Linked DNA regions of Homo sapiens: all the other regions are linked to region 3. The links are contacts of gene promoters, found by promoter capture Hi-C in human tissues and cell types (Jung and others, 2019). All regions are on one chromosome and are shown on one strand. Each heading gives the region's core, a stretch centred on a gene start or on the middle of the fragment in contact. The rest is flanking DNA. Distances are from core to core; before and after follow the strand shown. Region 1 has its middle 4.8 kb from the start of MUC13. Region 2 overlaps KALRN (kalirin RhoGEF kinase). Region 3 holds the start of UMPS (uridine monophosphate synthetase). Region 4 overlaps KALRN (kalirin RhoGEF kinase).

Region 1 (2,700 bases), core at 192-2,691, 210 kb before region 3:
CTGGTAGGTGGAGGTTGCAGTGAGCAGAGATCATGCCACTGCACACTAGCCTGGGTGGCACAGTGAGACTCCATCTCAAAAAAAAAAAAATTAAAATAAAAAAAAAGAGGTAAAATATAATCTCACTTTTGTTTTAGTTGTAACATCTTTAAGATGAGTAAAGGCCGGGCACAGTGGCTCACACCTATGATCCCAGCGCTTTGGGAGGCCGAGGCGGGTGGATCACGAGGTCAGGACATTGAGACCATCCTGGCTAACACGGTGAAACCCCATCTCTACTAAAAAATAAAAATAAAAAAATTAGCCAGGTGTGGTGGCGGGCGCCTGTAATCCCAGCTACTCGAGAGGCTGAGGCAGGAGAATGGCATGAACCCAGGAGGCGGAGCTTGCAGTGAGCCGAGATTGCGCCACTGCACTCCAGCCTGGGTGACAAAGCGAGACTCCCTCTCAAAACAAACAAACAAACAAAAAAAGATGAGTAAAAAGCTAAATATTCTTCCCCCACATATTTACTTACTAATAATATTTTCTCTTTTGAATAATTTGATCATGACAACCAACTTTTGGAAGATAAATTGTCTGAATGCACTGTGGGTCTGAAGACCCCAAACTGTGTCTTATTTCTTTGCATTCCCTGTTCCCTGCACCTAGAACAAATCGGACGGCCTTCATTCATTCCTTCCTTTCTTCCATAAATCTTTACTGAGCACCTGCCATGTGCCAGCTGTTCTGGATGCTGGAGACAGAGGAGTGGACAGGGAAGAGAAACTCTCATGGAAGTTAGGCAACAGGTAGCTAAACCAGCAAAGAGACAAAGTAATTACATATTGTGATGAGGGCTATGGAGGAAACGAACTGAGGTGGGATGGTCAGGCGAGTAGACCAGCTCCTTTAGATAAGGCCCCCAAGGAAGATCTGGCCTGTCGTTCTCCTGCTTAAATGTTCCCATGGCTTCTGCCATTGTGCTTAGAATAAAATCCACATTCCTTTCCACAGCCTCTAAGATCCTGTAGGATCAGGCCCCAGCCTGCCTCTCTGACAACATCTCCCCCCAGTCTCCTCCTAAATCATGGTGCTCTTCAAACACACCAGACTTGTTCTGGCCTCAGGCCTTTGCACTTACTACTTTTCTAGCTGGAATGCCCTTTTTCTGATGTTTATATGGCAGGCTTCCCTTCAATAGCAGCTCTCAGTTCCGATATCAGCTCCTGCAAGAAGGTTTTGCTGACCATCCTATTTAAAGTAGCACCTCATACCCCACAAGTCACTATCCCATTGTTGTGTTTTATTTTCTTCAGAGCATTGACCACTCTCTAAAATCATTGTATTTAATTACTTTTTTTGCCGACCTCCACTACCCATGATCTCACAGAAGCTTCAGGAGAGCAGAGACCTTCATCATCTTGTTCACTGCTTCATCTTCGATACCTGATGGATGTGCAGAGATGCCTCGAGTACCTGGGAGTGACTGAACAGCCCCCTCCTGAACATTACTCATGTAAAGCAACCATTCACTGAAAAGTTAATTTCAGAGGGTATAAAAAGCAAGAGTGGAAATGGTTCTGTCAATGTGTCATCAATTAGACATTTGAGTTGGGAATATTGCATTCCACAAGTCATTTCTCTGGGAATGGTCTTCTGAATTAGAGAGGAAAATGCTGATCAGCTTCATGTAGTATCTAAATGTGATATCCGTAAATGGTAGTAGTGACTCTGGGAAGGCTATACTCACACCTCTATTGAGGGGCTGGAATTAGTGAGAAGGAGATAGGAGCTTAACATGTATTTACATTTGGTTCTATAGACAGAAAATAATCTTTGGGTCTAACTATTTAATCTTGATAGAATTTTATGTTTTAATGATCCTCTAGAGCCTTATCATGGTACTGCAGTGTTGCAGAATCAAAGTAGCCAAAGAGGAGCTCTTTTGTTTGAGACAGGGTCTCGCTCTCTCGCCCATGCCGTGGTGCAGCAGTGCAATCTCGGATCACTGCAACCTCCGCCTCCAGGGTTCAAGGGATCCTCCTGCCTCAGCCTCCCAAGTATCTGGTACTACAGGCATGCATTACCATGTTAAGATAATTATTTTAAAATTGTTTTGTAGAGACAAGGTCTCACTATATTGCTTAGGCTGGTCTCAAACTCCTGGGCTCAAGCAACCCTCCCACTTTGGCCTCCCAAAGTGCTGGGATTACAGATGTGAGCCACCTCACCTGGCTAGAGAGGCTCTTGATGGATCAAATTCTAATTCTAAATGGCTCTGATATAGCTCTCTTGAGTTTATGCCTAAATAACTGGATATTGCTTTAGATTAATGGGCATGTCCCATTCCTCTGCATAGTCAATAGAATTATTGAAAAGCTCACCCTGAACAATAGTTCTTTTGCAACCAGGTAATTATGGGTAAACAGCTTTTTTTTTTTAGCTGACTTGGTGACAACGTTACCAACATATAACATTGTTTCTGTGGGAAAATGGAGTCTGTGTTCTTGACTTATAGATAAATACTTAGAATTTAGCCATTTCATACTAATAAATATCAACCCTTTTTCCTATCCAGGTTTTGAGTTCTGTGAGAAGTAAAACACAGAGTACAACAGATGGAGACAAAATATTACTTTTATAGAAGCTTATTTTTGAGAATGTGGCTTAGGGCTCCCTCCTTCTGGATCCTTACCTTCTTGGGCACAACAATCCTGA
Region 2 (2,700 bases), core at 81-2,580, 170 kb after region 3:
AGCTTTAGATACAGCCCAAAAGCCATTATGGTTCAAATAGATGATGAATATCCTGGTTCACTTCACCTCAATGGCTTGATCAAAAAGATATACTACACCAGGTCCCTACCCTGGCAAGAAGCGAATTCCAAAGAATGGCCAACAAGGGAGGGTGCTGGGGAAATGGTTTGAGGGGTCAGGCAGAGCTGCTCCTGCAACAGTCCCTCCCATCCTCTCCTCCAGGGATGCTGTAGGGTAAGATTCTAAGACCAAAGTTATTCCTACTCAGGGAGATGCTGGGAGCTGAGTAGGCAGCACAGAATCTCGGCATGCATTCAGGTTATGTTTTTGATTCTTCTCTGATCTTGTACCCCTGCTTCTGGAATCTTCTCTCATCTTACTCCCCTCACTGTATGCTCCCACTCCAGCAGCGAGTCCCTGTCTGGCCTTTCATGCCTAAGTCTTGGCCCCCTTCCCAGGAGCTCTCAGATATTTTCTCTGCCTAATTCCCTAGAACCCTGCCTAAGGCCTGCTAAGCCTTCTTGATGCTAATTGTCTGCCTGGCTTCCCTCCAAGTGCCTGCTGCTGAGTCACCATCCAACTCCTTGTCCTTACTTTCCCAGTCTCTCTCCTTTCTGGGTCCTGGCCATTCCCAGTGGGGCCTGTTCCCCTGCTGACCAATCCCTGGGTGGACACGGCCTCCTTCACCCTCCGCAATGCTTCCCAGAGGGGCAGAAGGAGCTCCTCCTGTCCTCACTTTCCTCCAGCTCCACAGTGATAGCTGTGCTGGCTTCTTTCCAGCATGGACCGCTACATACATAAGGGACATTTCGTAACCACTCTTTGTAACTCCATCTGCATTTTCAAAGTTCTCACGTTCACCAGAAATGATCATTTTCATTTAGGTCTATTTTTACATGATTAATATTTGGGGATTAACTGAACCTCCTTCTTGTATAAACTGTGTGAGCTAGATTGTCCCTTTGAGCTTCCTCATGTTATGGAAAAGACACAGTTATTCTGTGATGGTTTCCCAATGGCATCCAGAGAGTGAGGACAGGACCCCTGAAGAATTCTCCTGTTGTCATTTCAGAGCTTCCATTTGTGCACCTCTGTGTCTCTGCTCCATTCTCCAAGGCAGCATAGCCTCGTTTAGGGCATGGGCTCTGCAGCTCCTCACCAACTGTGTGACCAGGAGCAAGTTACTTCACCTCTTTGTCTCAATTTCTTCATCTGTCAAATGGGGATAATGACAGTATCTACTTCACAGCTTGTTGTGAAGATTAAATGAGATAGTATTAAAGCACCTAGGATAGTGCCTTAAGCAGAGAGAGCTAAATGATTGTCTAAAAAATAAGTTCTGGGCTGGGCGCAGTGGCTCGTGACTGTAATCCCAGCATTTCGGGAGGCCGAGGGCGGTGGATCACTTGAGGTCAGGAGTTCCAGACCAGCCTGGCCAACATGTTGAAACCCTGTTTCTAATAAAAATACAAAAAATTAGCCAGGTGTGGTGGTGCACACCTGTATTCCCAGCTACTCAGGAGGCTGAGGCAGGAGAATTGCACAAACCTGGGAAGCAGAGGTTGCAGTGAGCCGAGATCATGCCATTGCACTCCAGCCTGGGAGTCACAGTGAGACTCCCTCTCAAAGAAAAAAAAAAATTCTGGCGGTATTAGTGAATTATTATTTAAATTTGGGAGGAAAGGAGTACAGAAGAAATTTTAAACATCAATTTTGATGGCATGTTGTTTGGTAACAGACTGTATCAACTGTATATATGCATATACATTATTATGTAAGTGAATCCTTTTTTTTAAAGTAATCTTCATGGAGTTTTGCCCTAACTAGAAGAACTGACCCTGAGGCTCACTAGGGAAGGTGACTCAGACCTCCCTCAAATCAGCACATACTTTTCCTGTTATGATAAAAACAAAGACATGGTGGGACCGAGGAATCCCTTATGCAAAATGAGGATTCACTCTTGCCTCTTCATTCCGCATTGCTTTCCAGGAAGCTTCCATGTGAAGAAGCCCCCTTACCCCAGAATCTGATACCTGCCCTCAATACTTGCCAACTGAGCCTTCTAACTGTGAATACTGACTTCTGACACTGCCTTGCAGAGCACTTGGATCTGATACTCTTGACAGAGGGGGAGCTGTGCCCAAGAGCGCCCATCAGATAAGTCCGACCTCCTCTTCCTCCCCTGGCTGCCTGCCCTGCAACTTCTTCCATCTGATCATCTGATTCCTCCACAACTCTTAGCCAGCCTTAGGCACCAAGTTCACATGAATTAACATCTACATATGAACAGCCTCACAGGAGGCCAGAGCTGGCTGGCAAAAAATGTAAAGCTGGAGCATATCTACTTGGCACAGTTTCAAGGGCACCGTGAAGTCCTGCCAACTCCTGTGCAAAAACTGTCTTTCTCTCCTCCCCTCAACACTCCCTGCACCTGCTGCTAATGCCTGGAATTCCTCCATCAGAAAGTGATTTCATTTAATTAGGTAATGTCCCTTAACATGAAACACCTCAAACCAGACTATGATTCCCTTCCAAATGCAAAAAGATGAGATGCACCACACAAGTGACATGCAGCTGTACTTTAAGCATGAAAATGCTCATAATAGCATTTTTTCAAATGAAGAAAATTTTACAACAATAACATCACCGCCCCCCTGCCCCAATACTAAAATATAAAAATCTACCCAGTGGGAAGTGGAT
Region 3 (2,700 bases), core at 29-2,528:
AGACAGGGTTTCACCATGTTGGCCAGGCTGGTCTCGAACTCCAGACCTTAAGTGATCCACCCGCCTCAGCCTCCCAAAGAAAGCCTCCCAAAGTTGGGACTACAGGCATGAGCCCCTGTGCTCACCCGAGGCAAGAAGATCTCTTAAGCCCAGGAGTTCCAGGCTGCAGTGAGCTATGATCACAGAGCTGCACTCCAGCCTGGGTGACGTAAGAGAGATCCCATCTAAAAAATAAATAAATAAAATAATAACACAAGCGATTGATTAGCTATACATTGTTCTTTGTATCACACATTCCAGGTACATTAAGATAATGGGAGAGGCAGCTAGTCAGGGACAAAATTCCTTTAAATAATTGTCCCGGGGCTGCATAGGGGAGTATGGTTGAAGTCTCTCTGGGCTCTGATAAATTTTGTATACATCACAGAGTTCTGGTTGTTCTATTTTCCTTTTCTCACCAGTAATTTCCCAGCTACTGAATTCTCTGCCTACCCACGTTTTCCCGGTCTATTTGTTTGTTTTTTGAGGGCAGGGTCTCACTTGTCGCCCAGGCTGGAGTGCAGTGGCGCAATGACAGCTCATTGCAGCCTTGACCTCCCAGGCTCAGGTGATCCTCCCACCTCAGCGTCCCAGGCGTGCGCCACCACACCCAGCTAATTTTTTGTAGAGACGGGGTCTCGTCATGTTGCCCAGGCTGGTCTCGAACTCCTGGGGCTCAGGTGATCTGCCCACTTAGGCATCCCAAAGTGCTGGTATTACTCTCATGAGGCACCACGCCCGGCCGCAAGTCTAATTTTCTTAAAGAGTTAAATATACAGAATTCATTCAAGTGTGCTTCAGTGCCAGAAAGCGTTCCAAACTGGGTTTCCCGACTTTTGCAAAACACGTGTCTAAGCGTGTGGGTGAAAGAACAGACGACTCTCGAGGAGCCCAACCCCTGGCCTCTGTGCTTCTCATGCTTACTCCCCAAACCAAGAGTAGGGTCGGTCTGCCTGCTTGGCTCTTTTGCTCTCACTCACGGCCCAACTCCTGTCACCCTCTTCCATTTCCTTGTCCTCCTTCCCGCCACCAAGCCCTGTCCTTTCCCTTCCTAGGCCAGCACCTGACTCAGAAGACGCGGTCGAGACACGATGCCCCGCAGATCGATGTAGATGGGGGAGGAAAGCCCGCTCTTCAGCACGAAGTCCCCAAACTTGAAAGCCTGCACGTCGTACAGACCCGTCACCAATGGCCCCAAAGCTGCACGAGCGACCGCCATTGTCGCGCGCTGCCTGTTTGCTTCAAATTCCCAGGCGCCCCGGGCCTCCGGCGCCCCGATGACGTCACCCGCGAAGTCCCGCCTCTTCCGCCTGCCTCGTCTGCAGCTTTCCCGGCTTGCTGCACCCGTGGGTTTCCCCGGGCTCAAGGGTCAGGTGGATGGTAGCGAACCTAGCGCCAGTTTGTGCTTCTCCTGGTTTCTTCTGGATGGGGTCGCTGGGGTTCAAAGCCCAGAACAGCTAGATTGACTGTAGGATCATGAAGTCCCACCTTTCATGAGAGTTTGCATAAATCCTGTCCATTTTTTAATAGCCAATGCCTTCTCGACTAGTTCTCTTAATTATCTCTACTCCTTGGCCTAACATGTTATATTTGCTAGTTATTAGCCAAGATTTACCCCCCATGTTTCTCCAAATAGAATATAAGTTATCAAAGACAGGGACCTTTACTCAATTCTTTTATTAACTTCATAGCATCTAGTACGTGACAGTTCCATAGCAGTTTGCACATAGGAATATATAGCACTTAGATCATTACAGTATTCATTACCTCTTTTGTCTGTACTCTGCTTCCTGGAGGAGTACTTTTTTATTTCCTTTGGCGTACCTCAAATGCTTAGGTAATAGGTGTAGAAAAGGTAAGGGAGGGAAGGAGGAGAGTTAGAAGACGGTTAATTGATTGGTATCAGGGTTATCCAGGAGGATAATATTGCTAGACAATCTGAAAATCCAAACATATTTGGTCTTTACAAATAAATCCCTTAAAGAAATAATCAATAAATAATCTGTACAAATAAATCCCTTCTCCATTGTGTATATAAGGCAATACTTTATTCTAGCTTAAGGAAAATAACCCTTAAATTCACATAAAGAATGAAACCTTGTCATTTGCAGCAAGGTGGATGAACCTGAAGGACATTATGTTAGTGAAACAAGCCAGGAACAGGAAGATAAATACCAAATGTTCTCGCTCATATGCAGAAGCTAAAAAAGTTGATCTCATGGAGCTAGAGAATAAAATAGTAATCACTAGAGGCTGGGAAGGGTAGGGGGTGGTTAAAGGACACAAATTACAGCTAGATAGGAGGAATAAGTCCTAGTGTTCCATTGCACTGTAGGGTGACTGTAGTCAATAATAATTTACTATATATTTTAAAATAGCTAGAAGAGGGGCGTTTGAATGTTCCCAACACAAAGAAAGGATAAATATTTAAGGTGAGGAATATATGAATTACTCTGATTTGATCACTGTACATTGTGTGTATTGAAATAGCACTATGTACCCAATAAATGTGTACGATATCATGTGTCAACTATAACAAATACTTTTTTAAAAAAGAGGAACAGATAAGGCATAGCTGTATAGTGCACTACAAAGAACATGAAGTTTCAAACCAAAACATTTGGATTTTAGTCCCATTCTACTTACTGGCTGAGTGATCTT
Region 4 (2,700 bases), core at 124-2,623, 160 kb after region 3:
ATCAGGACTCCTAGCATCAGAACATGATTCCCCATTCCCATCCTGAAGTCCTCCTGCTAAAGCTTAAGCCAGTTTCCTTTACCGTTCTACATGCTGAGCCTGGTCCTTCACATAAGAACTCTGCAGAGGTCCCTGATGCATGATCCGTCCCTCCTTTCTATAAATATTTACTGAGAACTTCTTACATGGCAGCTACTGTTTTAGATGCTGGGGATAGGGCAATGAACACAGTAGACAAAATCCCTGTATTGGTAGGGGGGATTTGCAGAGGAATATTAACAAATATGTCAGGTAGTGATAAATGCAATGAAGAAAAGTAAAACAGAGAAGGGAGTATACACTGTGATGGGAGAGGGTGGGAGTTAGGGAAGACCTCTCTAATCAGGTGACATTCAAGCAGAAGGAAGTGTGACAGCAAGACATCCAAGTCTCTGAGGATCTGGGGTATCTGGTGTGTTCCAAGCAGAGGGAACAAAAGATCAGGCCCTGAGGTGAGCGTATGCATGGCTTGATTGGTAATGGCTCAGTGAGGCAGGCTGGTCAGGTGAATGGTAGACAGAATAACGTCCGCCAAAGATGTCCACATCCTCCTCTCCAGAACCTATAAATATGTTACCTTATATGGCAAAAGAGACTGTGCAAATGTGATTCTGTTAGGGACCTCGAGGCAAGGGGATTATGCTGGATCATTCTGGTGAGGACAGTGTAATGGTGGGTGTTCTTAAAAGCAGAGAACCTTTCCCACTGTGGCCCAGGGGAAACATTACCATGGAAGGAGGATCAGAAAGATGCAACATTGCTGGCTTTGAAGATGGAGAAAGTGTGGTGGTCTCTGGAAGCTGGAAGAGGCAAGAAATAGCTTTTCCCTAACAGCCTACAAAAAGGAATGTGGCCCTGATTGCTGAAACTGTGATTTTAGCCCATGGGGACTCATGTTGCATTTCCAACCCACAGAACTGTACGATAATGAGTTTGTGTTGTTGTTTGAAGCCACCATGTTCATGGTAATTTGTTACAGCAGCAACAGGAAATGAATACATAGGAGATGAAGTCAGAGAATAGGCTCCAGAACAGGTTTTGTGGAGCCTCTTTGCAGTCACAGAAAGGACTTCGTTTTACTGGAAATGAGACAGGAGACACTGGAACATTCTGAACTGAGATGGGTCTTCAGCCTGGGCCACCTCCCTGCAGCTGGGGGCAAGCAACGGGGCAATTATCTGTTCGCCCTCCTGTGTACAAAGGTGAGGAGCCAGACTTCCTGTGGCCTAGAGGCCCATGTGGAAAGTAAGGCAAGTGGGCACAATCTGAGAATCAAGATTCTGGCTGGGGTTAGTGGATACGGGGAGAAAACAAGACAACCCAGTCCTACCACAAGGGCAAAGAAAGGGGCAGGCTGTTCAGTAACTGCCCATAGGGCAGAGGGCTGGTATTCAGAATGGCAATTAGTAGTAAATGGAAAGACTTCTCATGCTTGTTTGCAGGGTTTGGGTTAAGGCTGCAGTTTCACCCCCACATAGATCCTCGGTGAGGAGTTGTTCTCAAGGAGCAAGTGAGACAGGGAAGGCAGTGTGGCGGTGAGAGGAGGGTGCTGACTGCTCTGTCCTGCAGAATCCTGTTGCTGAGAGCTCCTAGAGCTGTGGCCTGCAAGGGCTGCTCCTCAAGGCCTTTGAGGTCCTCCCATCTCTGCCCTTCCCTGAGCAGACAGGATGGGCACATCCCAAGATTGTCCAGACCATTGCCTTGCCTTCTCTTTTCCTCAAGTCACATTCAGTGCATGTCATTCCTGGGTCCCCGTGTTCTTCTAGGGGGAAAGTGTTCAGCTTAGCTAGCTGTAAGCAAGAAAACTGCACCATCTTTCCTCTGGGGGAACATTCTGTTTGCTGGGGTAACCTCCTCTCTATCATCTCCAGCTTCTTCTCAGAAAGCAGTCAGTGGCAGCCTTTCTTCTCTGGGATCAAATCCTGAGGCTCTCATTTTAGCTCTGAGCTCCATCAGCTGGTTCATTGGCTCCAAAGAGCATATTCAAGTTTGCCCCTGACTTCCCCTCTGGATGATAAGGGGCATCATCATCATGTAGATGTCACAGATTTACAGTGGGCACCAGCAGGCATGAAAACATGCTGTTGAAATTGGCATTTAACATAAGCAAAGTCACAGCAGGCTGGCTACAAAAGGGAAAAATGCAGGATCTCTGCAGAGGGACCCAGAGAGACCAGCTCTTTCCATGGACACCTGGGTCTTCCTGCTTCAGTTCTACTTGGAGACAGCACGACACTGAGTTGTATTTAGAGAAGGATGTGGCTTGCCCTGACATGTTCCTATTTGAGGCTTTGATTCTAAGCCCTTTCATGTCCTAAATAGTATTAGATGGATGTAGCCACAGGCAGGACATCTCAACCAGAACAAAGCAGGCCTGAGGCAGTTTCCACGAAACTCCTCTCTGTCCTGCTCTTCTTTGAATTAAAGAGTGGTCCCCTCATATACACCCAACACTCACAGTGTCAGCACAACCCCCATCACACAGGTCAGCCCATCTCCATAATGTGGTCCAAATGTTACCTTCAAGTACCACAGAATTAATGACAGAGAATAGGTCATGGAGAGGTGCCAGAGGTACAAGCCAAGGAAAAACTTGAATTTTTAGCTCAAATATATCAAATATTATCTCAATCCTCTGGGTTAAAGTCAAAAGAAAGTTAT

Evidence for each region. Contacts are between HindIII fragments. The study calls those that stand out against the background at their distance.
Region 1: a contact is called between a fragment that was not itself captured here and the fragment with the promoter of UMPS in region 3, in 1 of the 25 tissues and cell types used here (IMR-90 fibroblasts).
Region 2: a contact is called between a fragment that was not itself captured here and the fragment with the promoter of UMPS in region 3, in 3 of the 25 tissues and cell types used here (dorsolateral prefrontal cortex, lymphoblastoid cells and mesenchymal stem cells).
Region 4: a contact is called between a fragment that was not itself captured here and the fragment with the promoter of UMPS in region 3, in 1 of the 25 tissues and cell types used here (liver).

Annotation. Positions count from the first base shown.
Region 1 is chr3:124,938,193-124,940,892 of GRCh38, reverse strand. No RefSeq gene overlaps it. Among named protein-coding and RNA genes, the nearest start is that of MUC13, 4.8 kb to the right of the region's middle. The HindIII fragment of the contact is 5,379 bases long and covers 1-2,700 here.
Region 2 is chr3:124,557,221-124,559,920 of GRCh38, reverse strand. All of the region lies in intron 33 of KALRN (kalirin RhoGEF kinase), which reads right to left. The region is part of intron 2 of LOC105374076 (a long non-coding RNA gene); the gene reads left to right. Among named protein-coding and RNA genes, the nearest start is that of UMPS, 170 kb to the left of the region's middle. The HindIII fragment of the contact is 4,316 bases long and covers 1-2,700 here.
Region 3 is chr3:124,729,030-124,731,729 of GRCh38, reverse strand. UMPS (uridine monophosphate synthetase) reads right to left here and starts at 1,278. Exons shown (of 6, transcript NM_000373.4): 1 at 1,103-1,278. The coding sequence starts at 1,258. RefSeq lists enhancers at 1,199-1,608, 1,021-1,620. The HindIII fragment of the contact is 9,650 bases long and covers 1-2,700 here.
Region 4 is chr3:124,573,822-124,576,521 of GRCh38, reverse strand. All of the region lies in intron 34 of KALRN (kalirin RhoGEF kinase), which reads right to left. The region is part of intron 2 of LOC105374076 (a long non-coding RNA gene); the gene reads left to right. Among named protein-coding and RNA genes, the nearest start is that of UMPS, 160 kb to the left of the region's middle. The HindIII fragment of the contact is 5,764 bases long and covers 1-2,700 here.